Regions from separate parts of the Homo sapiens genome. Here region 2 is linked to region 1. The links are contacts of gene promoters, found by promoter capture Hi-C in blood cells and fetal thymus (Javierre and others, 2016). All regions are on one chromosome and are shown on one strand. Each heading gives the region's core, a stretch centred on a gene start or on the middle of the fragment in contact. The rest is flanking DNA. Distances are from core to core; before and after follow the strand shown. Region 1 holds the start of FZD5 (frizzled class receptor 5). Region 2 has its middle 26 kb from the start of CREB1.

Region 1 (3,659 bases), core at 1-2,500:
GGACGCGGCGGCCGCCCGGCCCACCAGCTGCGCTAGGAGCAGCAGCAACAGCGAGGGCGGCGCGGATGGGTCAGGCCGAGCCATCGCCCCCTCCCTCCCCTCGCCTCCAGCAGCCCGCGAGGGACGCACACAGGCAGAGGAATCCGGGCCGGGGCTTCTCCCTCCGGCGTCTCGTGTGTGGCGCCGGGGCTGGCAACCTGTTGGTTGCTTTTTCCTTTAAAGAAAACCGTCCAAAGATAAACTGCTTCGGGAAGGCGCTGCCTCCGCTGGCAGCGCTCCGCTCCTCGCCGGATAGGGCTGGGGAGAGACGGTTAGGGCTCGGATTCCAGGGAAAGGACTCTTTAAAAAAGAAGGGGGAGAAGAAAGATTGCAACCACTCCCTGTTGGAGAGGCGTCAACAGTTCGGTCCCCGCGAGCTGTCTCCAAATCTCTTAAGTTAACCCCTTTCCTTTCCTCCCCGCTCCGCCTCCTGTAACCAAACTACCGACTCCCCCACCCTCTCTTTCCAAGCTGGGCCCTTCAGGCAGTGCCCGGAGACCAGAACCCTCAGCTTCCCGGAAAAGGGCACAGGAAACGGGAGAAGAACAGGGAGAAAGGGAAGGTTCTCACCTCCACGGATCCCGCCGAGAAGAGCAGACAGTCCCCAGCCAGCCTGGGTCCTCCGTCCCTGGGTCACTCCGCTGAGAAGCGCGACTCAGAGCCGGGCTGGCGCCCGGAAAGTTTAGCGACAGGCTGGGTACCCGTGGCAGCGGCACATGGCAGCAGGTGGGGGCGACTCAGAGTGGGGGGCGCCCCCAGAACAGGGGCGGCGCAGGCCGGTCACTCGCCCTCTCCTCCTCGGGAGCCCCCCGCATGATCCAGACGGAGCCGGGCAGGGGCAGGCCGTGCGTTCTCCCCGGGGCCGGGAGCCGGACGGAGGGCGAGCGCGCCTGGCAGCACCTGGGCGGGAGGAAGGCGGGAGGCGGGGGCCGTGGGACCCCGCCGCCTCACAGCACCGCGAGCAGCCGGCGCTGGCCAGGCCGGGACTGCATGGTGAGCGCCGGCCGCCGCGTCCCGCCCGCCGCTCGCCTCCTCCCCTGCAGGGGGCTCCGCGCTCCAGTGGACTCCTGGGGGCGGTGGCGACGCTCTCGGGACGTGCCCTGCTCGGCTCCTCCCCCGCGCTCTCGCACCCTTTCGCCCACCTCTGGCGAGCACGGAACCGCGCGCGGCGGCGACCACAGCGGACTCACGGCCGCAGGCTGGCTGCCCTCTCCCGCCCCGCCCGGGTCACCTGCTTCTAATGCCCGCCGGGAAGCCCCGCCCCGGCTCCGCCCCCTCAGGCCCGGGCGCGGTTGGTGGGCCGCCTCGCCAAGCTCTCCGCGCGTCCCCGCCCACTGCCCCGCGGGCTCGGCCTTTCCCCCGGCGCCCTCTGGCCCCGCCAGGAGCGGGCAGCCAAGGAGCGCTGACCAATCGCGGGCCTGGAGGAGATGGGGGCGGGGCGAATGCTAATCATGCCGCTCTGGGCACCCGGGCGGGAAGCCCTTGCCAGAAGTCCCTCCGGAGTTCTCTGCCCGCGCCCTGGGTGCAGGACTCGCTCCTGTAACTTCCTGGCTTATGCACCTTTGCTCCCAGGGCCCCTGCCCTTTCTGCCTGCAGCTAAGCGTCCTTACAGAGTTCAGTGCTTCTTTGAAAGAACTGCTCAAGGAATCACTCTTAGGCGTGGCTGTCTCCCTTCCGAGCTGTCTTGGAACTGTGTGAAAGAAGAGAGGATACTTACTGAGCCCTTTACTGTGTGCCCAACAAAGTGTTAATCGGTTACATCCTTTTTTTTTTTTTTTTTTTTTGAGACGAGTTGTTCTGTCTCCCAGGCTGGAGTGCAGTGGCGCGATCTCGGCTCACTGCAACCTCTGTCTCCCGGGTTCAAGCGATTATCCTGCCTCAGCCTCCTGCGTAGCTGGGATTACTGGCGCCCGCCACCACGCCCAGCTAATTTTTGTATTTTTGGTAGAGACGGGCTTTCACCATGTAAGGCTGTTCTCGAACTCCTGACACCGTGATCTGCCCGCCTCGGCCTCCCAAAATGCTGGGATTACAGGTGTGAGCCACCGCGCCCGGCCCGTTTACATCTTAAGACAAGATCTCACTCCTTACAACAATTCTGAGGCAGGTACTTCCTACAGGTGAAGAAACCGAGACTGAGACTTGGCCAAGGCAACCGAGCTAATCATAGTTCCCCCAAGAAAGGGCGACCTCGGCAAGCAAGTTCACCTCCGTATTCCGATCACCTGGCACATAGTAGCCGCCCAAATGGCAACCCTGGGATTCGAACCCAGGTAGTTGGTCAGCGGCACTCACCATCGTAGCCGCCCCTCCCCCCATACTATCGCAGCCTCCCTGGCTTCGACCTTTACTTTTGCATCTCTTAACAAAATCTTGTTGTGACAAGAAAATGGATTTCTTTCTGCCTTTAGAAGACCCAGAAAGATGTGAGTCCTTTATTGGTCGAGGTTTATAATCCCAGGCAGTTCCGAAGTCGCCCGCAGAGAGAAGCGATACCGACCCAGGGTTCTGTGCTGGGCAGGGCGCCGGCCTCCCCGTGCCCTTCCGTCCCCGGCTGCCTGCTGCTAAGCCGCGCACTTGCGCGCCGCGGGGGGTCGGAGGGCGCACCGATGGCGGGGACACGGCGGCGCTCTTCAGTTGCGCAATTATGCTACAAGTTTTAAATGTCCTAAAAATGCCTCTTTTCTATGTGTTGTAATTAGATTGGAAGACTGAGGTATTTAGCATACTTGAAATACATTCACACGCCTAGGAAGAGGGTTTAAATTTTTTCCTTCTCCCCAAACTTTTCCTTCCACTGGGCAAAGGGCGAAAATAGGCAAGAGGGCCTGGGGACACTTGAAGGGATAGGGACTGGACTAACTGGACTAGATCCAGATCAACCGCGGGTTACTGTCCATCTCCTGTGCTGGATCCCATTGGCACAGGTTGGAAGAATAAATTGCGGAAGTGCCACTCCCCTCCTGCGTATCAACAACGCTTTGTGGGCAATAATGAAGAACACGTGTGTTAATCCCAGCCTCCAAGTTAAAAAGGAACAAATATCAATCACTTCGCGGATATCAAAACTATTAATAAACGTTTAAAAGGCCGGGCGCCATAGCTCACGCCTGTAATCCTAACACTTTGGGAGGCTGAGGTGGGAGGATGGCTTGAACCCAGGAGTTTGCAGACCAGCCTGAGCAACATAGCAAGACCCCCAACTCTAAAATACATAATTAAATAAATGAATAAATATACCTTACATCTTTCTTTCTCTGGAATTCTACAGGTGTTCATATTTTATCTCTTGTGTTTTGGAATTACTTGCCACTCTGGGTCAGGAAGCATCCCAGGGTTGAAAATAGTGGGAGTTGAAAAGCTGTGGGCATAGCAGTGAGCAAGAAAGGGAAGCCCTCAGTGGAAAGTATGTGCAGACTATGAACATGCCAAGGGAGGCCCATCTCATTCTGTGCTCTTTATGCAACGTGTGTATTACTGGGGATGGACAAGTGTTGGCTAATAATAAAAATTATTTGAAGTTGGAGAATGTTAATCACTCACACTGGAATTTAGCCAGAATATTTGTGTTATTTCACACGGTTCTGTCAGAGGCATTTGAACCAGAGCGACTCCATCTT
Region 2 (3,659 bases), core at 499-2,998, 270 kb before region 1:
TTAAAAGTCTAAAAACTACAGAAACTCTGAGATAATAAATGTGTGTTATTTGATGCTGTTAAGTTTGAGGTATACAGCAACGGAAAATACACATAGGGAATCACTGAAAACTTGACAACCACTGCTTGCAAACCACCCAACAAACCTCAGATAGACAACCACAGGTCCCAATGCCCACATAAAACCAGTAACAATTTGCTGAGTGAAGGACTGATGCTGGGAAGTTGTATCCAACTGGCCTGTGACCACGGCCCCACGTGCACAGATAATTTCCCCTAAAATCCAACCCAAGTAAGCCTATGACGTAAATTTAAAAACAAAACCTAAACCAGCAATCTTGCTCTGCAACTGCAGCTTCAAAACAAGCTTATCCACTTGCCCCTTTCCAACCCAATACATTTCTAGAGAGAAAAATCTAGAGTTGCCACAGGTCAATGAGTCTGTATAAAAAGCCTAAATGCTAAAGGAAGCAGGAAATATGGGGTACCATTCTACGCACACAAGCTGATGGGATGGAACCAGGACCAGAGAGAATGGGGTTATGGGAAATGGATACAGAGGCTGGCTCAGCCATGAGCCACTTGGTAGATAGGTCAAAGCACATAATCATAAGGACATGACAATCTCAGGGTGGAGATGACGTTGGCAAGTGGAGTGCAAACAGCTAAAAGGAAAGCAGGTGACAGTTCTGAGTGGTGCTAGCAGAACCCGAAATGAAAGGTGGAGTGTGCCAGGAACAGCAAGAGAGGGGACTGGCAAAATCCTGTGTGGGGCTAGAGAATTGGGAGGCAGCATCCATTTACAGGGAAGACCCAGATTCTGGGCAGGGATACTGAGGCAAAAATTCAGGCTTATGAATAGTAAAAGCTACATGGCATACTTACTACATGTCTACATGCCAAGTGCTTTAAACTATATTTCACTGAATTCTGCCAAAAACCCCATGAGGAGGGAACTTTTATCATCTCCATTTTTCAGATGAAGAAACTAAGGCAGACAGAATATATGTGTTTTGCTCACAGTCACATAGCTCATATATCAGTCAGCTCCAGATGCCATAACAGAATACACAGACCGGGTGGCTTAAACAACAGAAATAGATTTTCTTGACATTCTGGAGGTTCAAAATCTAAGATCGAGGTGCTGGCAGGGTTAGTTCCTGGCGAGGCCTCTATTCTCAGCTTGCAGATGGCCACCTTCTTCTATGTCCTCACATGGCCTCTTCTCTGTGCACTCGTGGAAAGAGATCACTGGTTTCTCTTCCTCTTCTTACAAAAACACCAGCCCTGTCAGATTAGGGTCCCACCCTTAGGAACCCCATTTAACTGTAATTACCTCCTTAAAGGCCCTATCTTTAAATATAGTCATATTGTGGGCTGAGGCTTCAACAACACATGAATTTGAGGAAGACACAGTCCAGTTCATAATAGCTCATAAGGAGCAAACATAGACAGTGTGACTCCAGAGCCTGATGCTTTTCGTGTGTGTTAATACATATTTTATCAAGGTATAATTTAAATATTATAGCTCACTTAGTTTTGAATAAATGCTTATGTCCATGGGACCCACATGTCTATCAAGAACGATACAGTTCTCTCAGCCACCACACCCTACCAGACCTCGTGATGACAGAAGGTGCTGCCACTGGTAGATTTCACAGCAGGCAGTAGTCATCCCTAGAACTGTGGACACAAGGTCCACCCCCAGCCAAGACTCGATTCTGAGCTCCCTCCCTCCCATGCACACACTGCATGGGGCTTCCTGCCTGGGCCAGTCCTCACGCTCTGCTGCTGTTCTCTGGGTCCCAGGAGACTGACCACTGCAAGCTGTATTTCCCAGGATATTTTTCCTCCTCCCTCTCTGCCTTGGGCAGTATCTCAGCATCTCTTCTCTGGCTCCAGCTCCCAACAGATGACCCTAGTGCCTCCTCTTCGGTTTAAAAAAAAAAAAATACGACCTCCTCCCTGTTGACCTCCAGTTTAGAAGTGGTACTGGTTTTCTGCTATCACAATTCTTTGGATTATCTCACCATCCATTGTTTGGCTTCTCAGCTCTTTTGTCTCCTGTATAACCAGTTCCCTGCATATTCCCTCTGTTTCAAATGCTCAGCAGGGTTTCTCTTTTCTGGATTATACTTTTCTGGTATACTGACATATTCCCTATTTGTCATAACTGGCTCAGTAACTGGGATGAGTCTAGATATATAGATGGAGCCCAGGCACAGAGGCTGAAAGCTAGAGGACTCATAAGCAGAGGTTTCTCCAAGAGAATACCAGGAATTGTATTACATTTGTTCTCCACTTATTGACAACTTATTGGTCCATCTTGTTATCAAATTTGCACTTGTTTGATTTATTCACTGTCTATGGCTCACCTATTTTTCAGGTAGACCTCTAACTGACATCAAGACAAAACATGCCTTTATCACCAGCTTCTTCAGCTGTTGTCATAACTGTAAGCTACTATTGGATTCGTCACACTGCAAATACCTCATGTTCTCACTTATAAGTGGAAGCTAAATGATGAGAACACACGGACACACAGAGGGGAATAACACACACTGGGGCCTATTGGAGGGTGGAGGGTGGGAGGAGGGAGAGGATCAGGAAAAATACCTAATAGGATTAATACCTGGGTGATGAAATGAGACAAGTTTACTTGTGTAACAAACCTGCAGCTTACCTACGTAACCTATTACCCCTGAACTTAAAAGTTTAAAAAAAAATGTGCTTGCTAATATGAAATGGTTGGGGAGAAAAGAGGGACTAAGGAAGACAGGATGGGACACTAACACCGAGGAGCCTTCAACAGCCTGTGGATATTCCTGGGGATCCTATCAGCCAGCTGGGGGTGGAGGAGGAGCCACAGGCAGAGCCTTTCAAGAGGCAAATGCCCGTCCAGCTCTGGCCCCAGTTTTCCTTACGGCAGCCTCTGCTTAACTATAAAATCTATACTGAGTAGATTACCATGACTACCGCAGAAAGACCTCCACCTCTAGTTTGGCTGCAAAACTAAGTCTTTTCTTCCAAGAGCCTTTGGCTTTAGGAGGGAGCACCAGGAGGCAGACTGCAGCCACTGGCTCACTGCCCTACATGCCAGGGCCTTCTGCAGAACCGCAATAGTTACAAGTCAAGCTTCCTTTCCTCAGCCCATACCACCAAAGCAATGGGCTGTTGGCGTGCCCTGACAGCAGGAGGAGAAGCCCCACTGTCAGGGGGTAAAAAGAAACGACACAGTTCCCACTTCTTCACTCTACGTGATAAATCACTTCAGCTGGGAGAACTGTCATGAAACGACCTGGCAGCTAATGAGAGAAATGGAACCCAAAAAAAGAAAGAAAGGAAGAAAGAATCCTGTTAGTCACAGAGCTTTTCATCTGAACCGCAGAACAGGCTCGTGCTTTTTGCTTTCTGTGGGAATAATAAAATCACAGTCCTGTAACTATATTAGCTCCTCAAACAAAAGTAACTCCCTAGAATAAAATTATGAGGGGTTTCTGAGTTGGATTTAGTTTTCACTGGGTAAAGGCATAAATTAAAAGGAGGAACCGGGTACCCTTAAGAAAGTCAATGAAGTAACTAAGCTTGCTATTCAAACCAGGAAAACACAGGCTGTGAGGCAGCTTCACTCTGCAGTCTATTCAACACCTGGCGAACAAA

What was found. Contacts are between HindIII fragments. The CHiCAGO score rates a contact against its expected background, and 5 or more counts as called.
Region 2: a contact is called between a fragment that was not itself captured here and the fragment with the promoter of FZD5 in region 1, in 1 of 17 cell types (neutrophils). The highest score is 5.7, in neutrophils.

What each region holds. Positions count from the first base shown.
Region 1 is chr2:207,768,656-207,772,314 of GRCh38, forward strand. FZD5 (frizzled class receptor 5) reads right to left here and starts at 1,251. Exons shown (of 2, transcript NM_003468.4): 1 at 610-1,251; 2 at 1-339. The coding sequence starts at 84. RefSeq lists silencers at 2-61, 472-531, 872-1,551, 3,608-3,659 and enhancers at 2,102-2,151, 2,316-3,136. The HindIII fragment of the contact is 9,976 bases long and covers 1-3,659 here.
Region 2 is chr2:207,501,760-207,505,418 of GRCh38, forward strand. No RefSeq gene overlaps it. Among named protein-coding and RNA genes, the nearest start is that of CREB1, 26 kb to the right of the region's middle. RefSeq lists an enhancer at 1,780-1,839. The HindIII fragment of the contact is 2,768 bases long and covers 365-3,132 here.